3 separate regions of the Homo sapiens genome follow, and all the other regions are linked to region 2. The links are contacts of gene promoters, found by promoter capture Hi-C in blood cells and fetal thymus (Javierre and others, 2016). All regions are on one chromosome and are shown on one strand. Each heading gives the region's core, a stretch centred on a gene start or on the middle of the fragment in contact. The rest is flanking DNA. Distances are from core to core; before and after follow the strand shown.

What was found. The method cuts DNA at HindIII sites, captures the fragments that hold promoters and counts their contacts. A CHiCAGO score of 5 or more calls a contact.
Region 1: the fragment with the promoter of LNP1 here is called in contact with the fragment with the promoter of DCBLD2 in region 2 in 1 of 17 cell types (total B cells); the score reaches 5.2 in total B cells.
Region 3: a fragment that was not itself captured here is called in contact with the fragment with the promoter of DCBLD2 in region 2 in 1 of 17 cell types (monocytes); the score reaches 5.7 in monocytes.

What each region holds. Positions count from the first base shown.
Region 1 is chr3:100,400,223-100,403,760 of GRCh38, forward strand. It overlaps LNP1 (leukemia NUP98 fusion partner 1), which reads left to right and starts at 1,317. Exons shown (of 4, transcript NM_001085451.2): 1 at 1,317-2,217. TOMM70 (translocase of outer mitochondrial membrane 70) reads right to left here and starts at 867. Exons shown (of 12, transcript NM_014820.5): 1 at 404-867. The coding sequence starts at 727. RefSeq lists enhancers at 1-204, 886-995, 1,046-1,095, 1,106-1,195 and silencers at 566-645, 1,256-1,335. The HindIII fragment of the contact is 4,606 bases long and covers 1-3,165 here.
Region 2 is chr3:98,899,602-98,903,270 of GRCh38, forward strand. It overlaps DCBLD2 (discoidin, CUB and LCCL domain containing 2), which reads right to left and starts at 2,094. Exons shown (of 16, transcript NM_080927.4): 1 at 1,521-2,094. The coding sequence starts at 1,725. LOC105374002 (a long non-coding RNA gene) reads left to right here and starts at 2,413. Exons shown (of 2, transcript NR_189121.1): 1 at 2,413-2,916. RefSeq lists enhancers at 993-1,709, 1,710-2,425 and silencers at 1,533-2,222, 2,363-2,412. The HindIII fragment of the contact is 5,361 bases long and covers 1-3,669 here.
Region 3 is chr3:97,816,598-97,820,700 of GRCh38, forward strand. It overlaps LOC101929298 (a long non-coding RNA gene), which reads right to left. Exons shown (of 3, transcript XR_427389.3): 2 at 1,807-1,906. Among named protein-coding and RNA genes, the nearest start is that of CRYBG3, 3.4 kb to the right of the region's middle. The HindIII fragment of the contact is 819 bases long and covers 1,682-2,500 here.

The DNA.
Region 1 (3,538 bases), core at 67-2,566, 1.5 Mb after region 2:
TCTTAGCGATTAGGTTGTAGGCTTTGGAAATCACAGAAACAGTTCGTATCACGATGTACCAATTGTTAATCGAATTTAGCTTCCTTCACTTATTAAATACAATCATCACATTTGCAAATGCCCCACTCCCATCTACAACACTAGGGATAAATGCTGTGTCACTGAGAAGAAAAGCAAAGGATTTTTCTGAAACCAAAAGCAAACTGTCAAAGAATGCCAGTAACCTGTCATCGAGCTACTCTATGCCCTCCACTGGCAGCCAGAAATGAGTCTCCCTAAACCCAAGTGTTGTGCTGCCGCTTGGCAGCTTCCGTCTGATGGGAAGCCCCCTCACTGACACAACCCGCCAAGGAAAAGCTGCACGAGCCAGTTTCCTCCTCTACGGCCTGGGGCTGCTTCTCACCATGTCCAAGTGAGCACCGGGACCTTCAGGGTGTCCGCTGCCCGGGGCCGGACTGGCCCTGCCCTCCGGGGTCTTCCGTTCGCTGTTGCGCTTCAGGCCGCTGGCGTCGCCCCGGCCTCTGGCCTCCCGGCGCCGTTGCTGCCGACTCCACAGGTATATGGCACCCGCGCCCAGCAGCAGGGGTGCCCCGACCGCCAGAGCCAGCTGCCATCGCGGCAGCCCCCCCGTGCCCGGGCCCGCAGTCCCGCCGCCGCCCACCCCACTCCCGGAGCTCGGTACAGCGGCTGCGACCACCGCTGCCTCCACAGGTTTAGAGGCGGCCATGACAAGTGTCCTCTGCCACCGCCTCCCTGTCTGTCGCGAGCGCCACAATCACCAAACAGCGTGCGAAGGAAGACCGAGGGAGGGAAGGAAAGCAATGAGCGAGCGAGCACGCTAGGCAGAGAGAGCGGACGACAGAAAAGGGCCAGAGGTCACCGGAAGCCCAGGGCATGCCGGGCCAGACCTGGCCGTCCTTCTCCTCCAGTATCAACCGAAGAGGGAGAGGAGGGGCGGAAATCACTTCCGGGTTAAGGGAAAGCGTGGGTGTGAGTAGGAGTCTTCGGAAACCCTTTTTCTTTCTTTTCGCCCCGCTGCTGTTCGGGAGATGGACTTCTGGAGTCCCCGTCGTAGCTGGTGTTGTCCCCTCTACCTTCAGGAAAGAAGGGCAGATGGCCCTCTTGCCTACTGAAGCCGAGGAGGGGCGCGTATACAGCGGGCTAAGGGCGCTCAAGAGATCCGAGTGGAAGAAAAAGCAGCGGCACAGCACTGGAATGGGCGGGAGTGGCAGAAGAGTTGTGAAGGCTATTGGCTAGCAAGGGTGGTGGGCGGGGCGTAGACCGAGCTACCCAGTTTACTGGTCGATTTCGGATCCAGTTTTCCAGTTATAGCCACGTTGGCACCTCTTGAACCTCTGTGGCCGTTAGCACGGTTTTCTGCCCGCGTGCCCGAGAAACCAACGGATTAGAAGGACTTTTAAAGATGTGTGAGGAAAGAGCTCACCGCTGAAGAAGGCTGCTGCATCACTGAACTTCTTATCACTAACATAGCGAGATTTTAGTTTGGACGAATTTGAGGTTATAGGGGAGATAGCGATGGCAGAAGACTAGGTGGAAATGGCACATCTAGGTTGGCTGCAGTCGAAACGGTTTGAGCGTGGTCGCTGTGGCTCATCGTCGGCACCAATTAACGAAGCGATGACATCTGCGTTGTTAGGGGTTTCTTAAACTGAGTTGGTAGAAATGCGAAGCGTCAGGGTTCCCGCCGGCTTCGAGCCTTTCTTGGCGTATTTGTATCTTGAGCTGATTTCTGCGTCAGCCCACATCTCGCTCTGATCCGCACGCCCCCCGGGTTGTTTTGCAGTAGCAGTCTCAGCCCTCTTCTCGTCTCATTCCCAAATCGTAATTTCAGTTCACAGCTTTTTATCTATAATAGCTTTATCAACTCTTTTTCCGATGCTCTGCACCAGATCTCTTAAAATATAAAATTACCTTGCAAGGTATTGTTTGGAATACACGGTATTTTCATGAAGACAACTATTAATAGAAAAATCAGAGTCCAGAACTATGGTTCTCCATTTCTGGTATACTGGTTTGCAGAAGCCTTACATTAAGATTTCATAAATGATTGTTTTGCTGTTAAGTGCAACAACATCACAGTAGAGCTACATAAAGATTGAAAGGAGATATTTTATCAAGTGGCACCAGAATGGACTGATTAAAATAGAATGGCCTAATTGGAAAGAATTTCAGGATCACCGGTTTCTCCTGCTTCATGTAAGTTCCTATTAGTAAATTGCCTTCAGGCAATAGGGTTTCTTAGCAACAGACTAAAAAAATGGGCTAAAAATAGCAGTGGAATTGAGTTGATCGTTGCAGGCAATAGGCTTTTCTCCCCTCCTGATCCCCCAATCCCCAAAGGCAAATTTTCTGCCCCTTAATATAAGCTCTGCCTTGCCTTTTTCAGAACACAAGTTAGGATTTTTTTTTTTTTCTGAAATTTCAGTTTTGCTGTGGCCTCTTGGAGGATTGTAGAGTGCTAACAATTACAAACTTGATAGGAACTAAAACATATTTGAAGTTTTTTTTTTAAACCTTTTTCTTATTTATTGGAGTAAGCAATACACTGTTACGGTTAAACTCCAAAAGTTACAGAGTTTACTGTGAAAAGTCTTCCTTCAGTCCCTGTCCTCAGCTGCACAGTTCCCCTCTCCAAAGGGAATCGGTGTTATTTTCTTGAAACATTTTTTGGATTAATATTTATCTAAAGGCCTGATTTTGTTTGGCTTTATTTTTAAGGTTGGCATTAGTAAACGAATCTGTTCTGGTTACTTTTATACTTTGATAAACATCTCATTTCCATTCTCTAGCCTATGCTATTCTCTCATTTTCTCCTCCATTTCCTAATTGATGGTACTGTAGAGCCAAATAGAGTGTCGCTTACTGGCTTTGGGACCTTACTGATCTGATGCATGTTTTTCTAATCTGTGAAATGGTGAAAACATCTACCTCTCAGGCTATAGTAAAGATTTAATTAGAGAATATTTAAAGTTCTTTTGATGTTTGTTACAAAGCAATAGATATTTGATGATTAGTTCTCAGTTTTTCTAAATTTTAAAGTAAAGAAGTAAAATACTGCCTTTCATTTCTAAAAAATTAAAGTTCTGTATATGTGAACATAGACATTATCTTTTTCTTGGTAGATTAGTGGAACTCAACTGAAGAAGCTTTCTTCACCTTTGATCTGTATCTTAGGAGGCAGTTAAATGAGATAGTCTAATGGACTAGGTTGTGGAAGACCTGAGTTTTTTTTTTTTTTGAGATGGAGTTTCGCTCTTGTTGCCCAGGCTGGAGTGCAATGGCGCCATCTTGGCTCACTGCAGCCTCTGCCTGCAGGCTTCAAGCAATTCTCCTCCCTCAGCGTCCCAGTAGCTGGGATTATAGGCGGCTGCTACCATGCCAGGCTAATTTTTTGTATATTGGCCAAGCTGGTCTTGAACTCCTGACCTCAGGTGATCTACCTGCCTCGGCCTCCCAAAGTGCTGGGAATACAGGCATAAGCCACCATGCCCAGCTGACCTGAATTCTTATTCTAAAT
Region 2 (3,669 bases), core at 844-3,343:
AACTGATTCTATACTGTTCCAAGATTTTTTTTAATAACATGATACAAACACTATCAGATCCAGAAACAAGCAAAGCAGAGTACTCTGCCTATGGAGTAATATGCCCTCCTGCATCAAGGTACCTTATATTCTTTGTGTCTCAATGTCCTTACGTTTGAACTGGGATAACAATAACTATCTCAGCTGATTGTAGTGAAGATTCAAGGAGTTAATAAACCCAAACCACTTAGTCCAGTTGTTCCAGCCACAAAGTAAGCCCTAAGTGTTAGCCATATATAAGCCTGTTTTCCCCCCTACCAGGAGGGAAATACATCTCTACAGTGGAAAGAAGGATTTCACACTTTAATATATTAAATGATGATGATGTTCAGTAATTTTAGAAGACGATCTAACTAAAACCTAAATGCTAAGCATCTAAATTTTGAGTTACTCTATATAGAAACGTGTCTAGATGTAAGGGGTCAGTTTGCCAAATACATTTTTTCCTTATAGTTACAGAGATTATATTTCCACATGCCTGTCAAGGTTCGGCATCTTCTTAATGACAGGCCATGATTCCATACTTCACTGAAAACCATGAGAGCAACATAAAGCTGGGCTTAAAGGCAGAGAACAATTTTCTTTTTAAAAAACTCTCTTCCTAGCAATAAGTAACAATCCAATCCTTATCCTTCCCACTGCAATAAAATGGAAAATGCAATGGAAATATCTTTTCAAAAACTGATGCCAAACTGATTCAAAAAGTGTGGTACACTACGGGAAAACAGTACTAAAGGGGAAAAGAAATCACCCTGCATTCTCCTTCCATTATGATAAGTATTTAATAAACAGTTTTGCCTGTTTCTGGAACAGGTTTTTCAAGGATTGTAGGTGGAAAAAAAAAAAAGTTTTGTCACTTTCTGGAAAGGCTTACCTTTTTAATGTGGAGAGCTTCACTTGGGCAAATTAGCATAGCGTTGGGTCAGACCCAGTGTTTGACCAAGGCAGTCTAGACCACCAGCCTCAATGATGGATTGTAAAGAACATGTTCTGAATCCAAGACTCAGAGATAAGCAGAAACTATTCCATTCGCTTCAGAACCCGGGCTCTTTCACAAAGGATCATAATTACCACCACTTACCTTTAATAGGCTTAAGATGCTATTTAATTAACCTGCCTTCCTACAGTGTCCATCCATCCGTGCAGCTTAACTTTAGGGGTCATTACCTCCAAAGGTTCTTTTTCCTCCCCAAAATTTTCCCCAGAAGGACCTAATATCAACGAGGCTTTCATAGCAGGGTCTCACGTCCCCCTTTCAGAAAAATAAATGGCCTTGCCAAAAAGTAAAGCCGCGCCAACTTGGGGGACAGACGGGCAAGACCTTGCCTTTGCAACTCAACCCCGTGAGTACCCAGCCAGGTCCGGCCACGCACGAAAGCGCACCGCGCCTCCCTGCAGCGTCTGCAGATTTGTTCAGGGGCCAAGAGACCCGCAGCCCCGACGGAGGTTCCCCCGCCGCTCACTCCCCTGGGACCACTCACCTTGCTGGGCTCCAGCGTCCTCGAGCAGCAGGAGCAGGACAAGTAAGAGCAGGAGGAACAGAGGCATGGAGAAGGAGGAGGAGTTGGAGCAGGGAGGGAGGGAGCGGGAGAGGGGGAGCGCGGCCCAGGCGGGGGCGGCGGCCGCGGCCCGGACTTGGGGACACTGCGGGCAGCGCCTGGCTCTCACCACCGCCCGGCTCGCCATCGCGGCGGCCGGCAGTCTGCCTGCATAGTGCGGGTGCCTCGGCAGCCCCGCGCGCCTCTGGCCGCGGCACCCGACCAGGAGACGGCGGCAGCGGCGGGAGAACAAGAGGCAGCCCTCGCCTCACCCCGCGCCGGGACCCTTCCGCCCCTCACCCCGCTTTCACCTACTCCTCCTTCGTCCCTTCCCTCCGCTCCCCGCGCCGAGACCCCAGGCCGGAGCGCAGGGGAGGGGAGGGAAGGAAGCGGAGTCCTCGAGCCGCGGAGGACGGCCGCGGCGGAGCTAAGGAACGTGCCTCCCGCGCCGCGCTCCTCACCAGGGTCGCCGCTCGCCGCGCTCACCCGCGGCTCCGGCTAGCTGGCAGGCAGGCCCGCAGCCAGCTCCCTCGCGCTCCCTCTCGCGCGCGCCGGCCACGCCCCCTAGGCACCGCGGCCAATCCTCGGCCAGCTCTGGTCCGTCTCCTTCCGCGAAACCCAATCAGCATGCTCGCTCCTCGCTCGACCCGCTAGTTCTCCGGCCCATTCCTCGAGCTCCACCGCCCCTTACCTCCCTCTTCCAATCCCCTTCGGCCTTTGGAGGCGTCCCACCCGCCTCCTCCAATCCAGGTCCCGCCCTCCAGCTTCGGATCCCCGCGGCCCCCGCCCGGCCCGGGCGCCTGTTATTGTTGGGCCCTCAGCCCAAACTGATCCCGCAGAGGCGGCAGCCAGCTCGTCAGTGACTTCCGGGACGTCCCCCATCCCGCGCTCCCTGCTCCTCAGGCCCAGCTTGCTCCTTGCTCCTTTCTCCTCGCTCCTCCGACGCACATCAGACCACTGGAAGGGGGTGGGAAACCTGGATCCTGGGTTGTTTTAGCTGGGAGCTGAGTCTAAGGGACTTTTTTTTTTTTTTTAATGGCAGAGCGTGGCTTGTTTTGTTAAAACTGCCGCCAGTTGTTGCAACAGCTCCGAGTTAGAATAATAGATGCAGTGTTCAGTTTTTAATATATGTGTTCCCTGTTTTCTCTGCTCTTTTTATGGCGGGGGGTGGGGGACAAAAAAGTGTAAAACAAGATCCGTGCCGCAAAGGCAATTTAAACCTAACATCCCAACCTTCATGCAGCCATTCTACAAGGAGTTGTTGAGCACCTGCTGTCTATCTACAGAAATCTTGAAATGTGGAACAGAGATGGAAATATAGCATGCAAGTCAGAATGAAGTAAGTGCTAATTAGAGTCACAAGCAGTTTGATGGAGACTGTAAGCCTATGGAACGACAAAAAGAATTTTAGGAAAGAGGAATGCAGAGGTCTACGCAGTGATTTATTTTAGAAGAGAGTGGCCATGTAGGATGTTTTTAACAGCAGTCCCTGAAAGGACAATGGTGTCATTAGCAAATACAAAAAACTGCTAAGGTGGAACAAGTTGTGTGGGAAAGTAAGTTAATTTTGGACGTATTGAATTTGAGATGCCAACTTAGATAATAAGTGAAGCTATGTAACAGGCAGATGGATATTTTAGTCGAAAGCTCAGATTGAGAGCTTTGAAATTATGGCTCTGGGAGTCATACATAGCCATACATGTATACATATACATATGTATACATAGTCATACATAGATGTGATATTCAAAAACATGGAAGGGACTGATATCCTTCAATGAAAGTCTAAGTTGGAAAGGACTTTGGAGGTCGTATGTTTCAACTCCCCTGCATATTTCTTATACAATAATCTCTTTAACCAAATTTATTCAATTAACATTTATTAAATGCCTAAGAAACCCTATTATGCTCTAAGCCATTGTGGGCATTGGGCATAAAAAGTTTACTGAGAAGAACTTACATTCTGGAGGAGGAGGTGACATGTAAACAAACCTATTGTTATTAGTGCCCTGTTAGAGGTGTGGACTGGTGCCACAATACCACAGTGAACGGAGTTCAAAAAAACCCGTCAGTTTGAAATGCCAGTGTCTTG
Region 3 (4,103 bases), core at 841-3,340, 1.1 Mb before region 2:
AAGAAGTAAAAAATTATGTCATCTATAGTAACATTTGGTTTTATAAGCTCCATATGGATTTTTTTTTGCTACTACCTTTAGCAATATTTTTAAATAAATTTTTCTGGAAGTTTGTTAATGATACTTTCTTTCAGAATGGAGTAAGATTTCCATAGACATGTCAAGTTTATATTCAGCACTATGTTCATCATTTCATCACTCCAAATTGTAATCAAAGTGAATAGATTTCTATTTTATTCTATGCAAAGAAAATTCATGTACAGGAAATTACGTTAATCTCAATTTTAGATTAGGTAAAGTTCCCATGTGAAAACTGGTTCATTTTATATGACAGCATGTAGCATTTCCAGCTGCTTTCTCTCCCTAATCAAAACATTTGCTCACAAAAGCAGCTGCCACTATGCCTTGTTTTTAAACCATTTGCAAGAAATCAAACTGAGAACAAAGTACCCATAGTAAGAAAGCTCTAGCTTCTGGGACATGTATACTATAAAACGTCACAATAAGATAAAAAGGAAACCAGTTCACAGCCACTTTTTCTGTTTTGTTTGTTTTGCTCCAAAGCTTTGTTTCATAAAGCCCTAAGAAACAAAACTTACAACTAACAGTAATATAATGCAGTCTAGAAATTTATAAATAATCATTCTTTATGGAATACTTTTAAAATTGTATATCAGAAGTGCATATTACAGTGCAGAGTTTATGAAGTCAGATGAAATATTTTGGGAAAACAATATAGAGGATGAATTTCTCATCTAATAGTAAATTATTATTCTGAGCCATTATCTACGTCATGCTTATGAAGCTCCATTAATAAAACTTAATATCTTACATATGACCTTATATTTTAGATAGCATTTGACTTAGATAAAAGACACATCACACTGAATTGGTGTGAACAACTATTTTGGAACACATGTTATAATCAGTGTTTGTCAAAGACATGCTACCCCTATTTATACATTTTTAAAAGTACGTTTCAATATTAGCAAATTTTGTGCTGTTTGAAAGCTATATATTTAATTTTTAATGTTAATGTTATATTTTTGTAAAGGACTAATTTCTCTTTGAAGTATCATCATATCAAAGGGAGAAAAGTGTAAATGTAGTTTAGGTCAGACTAACACATTTTACTTAATTTAAGCATTAAAAGATGTGTGTTCGAAAGATCTCAATCTCCACATGTTCCGCAAACAAAAACCAGACAAACAATACAATAAAACATCATGCATCTCATAGAAGTTGGAATAACCAATTACTTAAAAATTTTACCATCTGTTCTCATTGAAGCAGCAAGACAGGCATTTCCCCATGTTACAAACCATGATAATTAGAAAGTAACAATGAGAAATGCTAACATCATTTTTCCCCTTTTTTATTTGCTGTGGGAGTTCTTAATGAAAATTTGAGCATATAAACAAAGGAAAAGAGAAGATATTCCCCCCACCCCACCTCCTAATTGAGTGCTTATATTCAGTAATAGCTTTTTGCTGCCCTGGGCCGCATGACACTGCCTCATTTGGCCACGCACAGCTATTATTCTAGGAGGCAGCTAGTGAAGTGCCCCAATCCATCTGCTTGCTTTTTCATGGGCTGGTGCTTTCCTTGATGTTGACAGCTGTCTTAATATTCCTGGGCCACCTGCCACACAGTAAATACTGTGCTCTAAGATATATACAGAAGCTTATTCCCTGGTGGACTTTTCAGAACAAAAACGCTTAGCATTACTAAACTACTCTTGCAGTTTAAATGCTTCAAGGATCAACACTTTCATTCTATTCTCATACCTTTGAGAATGGTACTTACGTTGTGGGAATGGCAATTCAGTTACAGTGTGATGAACTTCAGGATTTCTCATATATCACACAAGTTATTGAATTACAGTATTATAGGTGGAAATCAGGTGCTAAAAGGAGGCAGAGAAGAAGAGAGCATATTAACAGTTATCTCCTCTAGTGAGCCTTCCAGGAACCCTTCAGATTAAGTTGGGGATCCGTCCTATGTTTCCCATCTTACCCCATTTGCTCATCTTGCCCAATTAAACTTGCTCCTTGATGTTAAGCATTTGGTCTTATCTATCACCGTATCTCTATGTCTAAGAATGAGCATGTATCTGACACATAGTATGCACTAGAGGACATATCCAGGTTTTGTGGGATCTGAAGTTTTTACAATTTGGAGGGTCCTCTTTAAAGAAAAAGGATTTAAAAGAAAATTAGATATAAAAATGAATATATTGAATGAAAACATAAACCATGCAAATTACTAATTTTAAAAGGTTGACTAGAAAAACAATTTGTTTTCTTACTAAATGCCTTGCACAATCACTTTTTTTCCTATATTTTTGGCAGTGTACTCTTCAATAGCCTTTCATATGACAATAATTTAGTAATATTATTTTCCATAATAATGAAAAGATAATGCAATCTTTCCTCTAGTTCTGTTTTTCTTATTGATAGAAAGGCTGTGTAAACATGCAGTACTACACACACACACACAAAGCTTGTGGTACTGCTACAGGTTTGTACCCTACAAACAAGAATTCTGATAAATTCTATTTTACATGGTTTACATCAACAAGAAAAAATGTTTTGTGTTTACAGTTATAAAAATTATTTTGGGTGGCTGAGACGGGTGGATTACCTGAGGTCAGGAGTTCGAGACCAGCCTGACCAATATGGTCAAACCCCGTCTCTACTGAAAATACAAAAATTAGCTGGGCATGGTGGTGGGCGCCTGTAGTCCCAGCCACTCTGGAGGCTGAGACAGGAGAATTGCTTGAACCCAGGAGGCGGAGGTTTCAGTGAGTTGAAATTGCACCACTGCACCCCAGCCAAGGTGACAGCGCCAGACTCTGTCTCAAAAAAAAAATTAAATATACTGCATTATTGAATATATTATTGCTATGAGAGAAATTACATCAATCGGAGGCAATCCTTCCTGTTGAAACTTTGTCTTCTGATGCCTGGAATAATTTTCCACATGACACCTGATGCTGCTTTACCTTTCAAATCTTGTCTCACCTCTATTACCCACATATTTTCAGTGTCAGAGACCACAGAATATATCTCCTCTGGCTCTGCATCTTGGGTGTAATACTTGGTGAGCTGCGCTACAAACAAATTGGAATTTAAGAAATAACTATACTTTGGAGAGGCTGGAAACCACATAAATATATTCCACTAAGTCCAAACTAAATATATTCCCAACTGAAATTCCCTAGCAGATTCCCAAATGCTCTTGATAACTCTAAGTGGAAAAGAAAATCTAAGTGGACATCTAAGTGGAAAAAAAAAGAGATTGTGGTCTTAATCACATTAAAACATTTACTTTTGTAAATTTGATAAAACTGGCCATGGATCCCATTGCTGAGTTCACACTGGAAGAGACTGTGCCAGCAGGGAGCCAAGAAACTTGAGCCTCATCGGCTTCACTGTAGATGTGCTTCTACTGCAGGCACTCACTAAACGTCGGGGAATAACTGGATCAGTGAATTAATGACACTGTGCTAAATTAGTATCTCTAAGATCCTTACAGCTCTAAAATTTGACATTTTTACAGGCTTCCTAATGCAATCTTAGAATTTAGTATTTAGAAATTTGTTCATATGAGTTCAGGTTATAACAATGTAGGACATATAGAAAACTAATAAGTGCTCAGAAAGCAAATGAAGGAAAATTCAATGGTCATTGTTTTATGACTTTAAGCTATTTTGTCATAGACGCAATTTGTCTTAGTGTAAACATGGCATTATTTGTATTTACCATTCACTTAAGTGCTTTGCTGTGCTACCGAGTGGAGATCAGAGTATTGTTAGATATATTATTAGTTAAAACCATAATTCATTAATTAAATCCTATTGACTCCCCCCCATTTTTATTCCAAGAAAAACTTCCTGAACGAAGTACCCTCTGGGTAGGCACTGGGGCCTGGTTTGATCACAGAACAAGTCAGGGACAAATGTGATAGTCATTCAATAATACGTTGGGAAGACAAATTATCATTTGGGCCTTTTAGCTGGAAGAAACAGTTTGCTTTATTACTCTCTTTGGGCTTTTTGGTAAGTGGGTCTTCAGTGGAGATTCTCTTATAAAATAATAAAG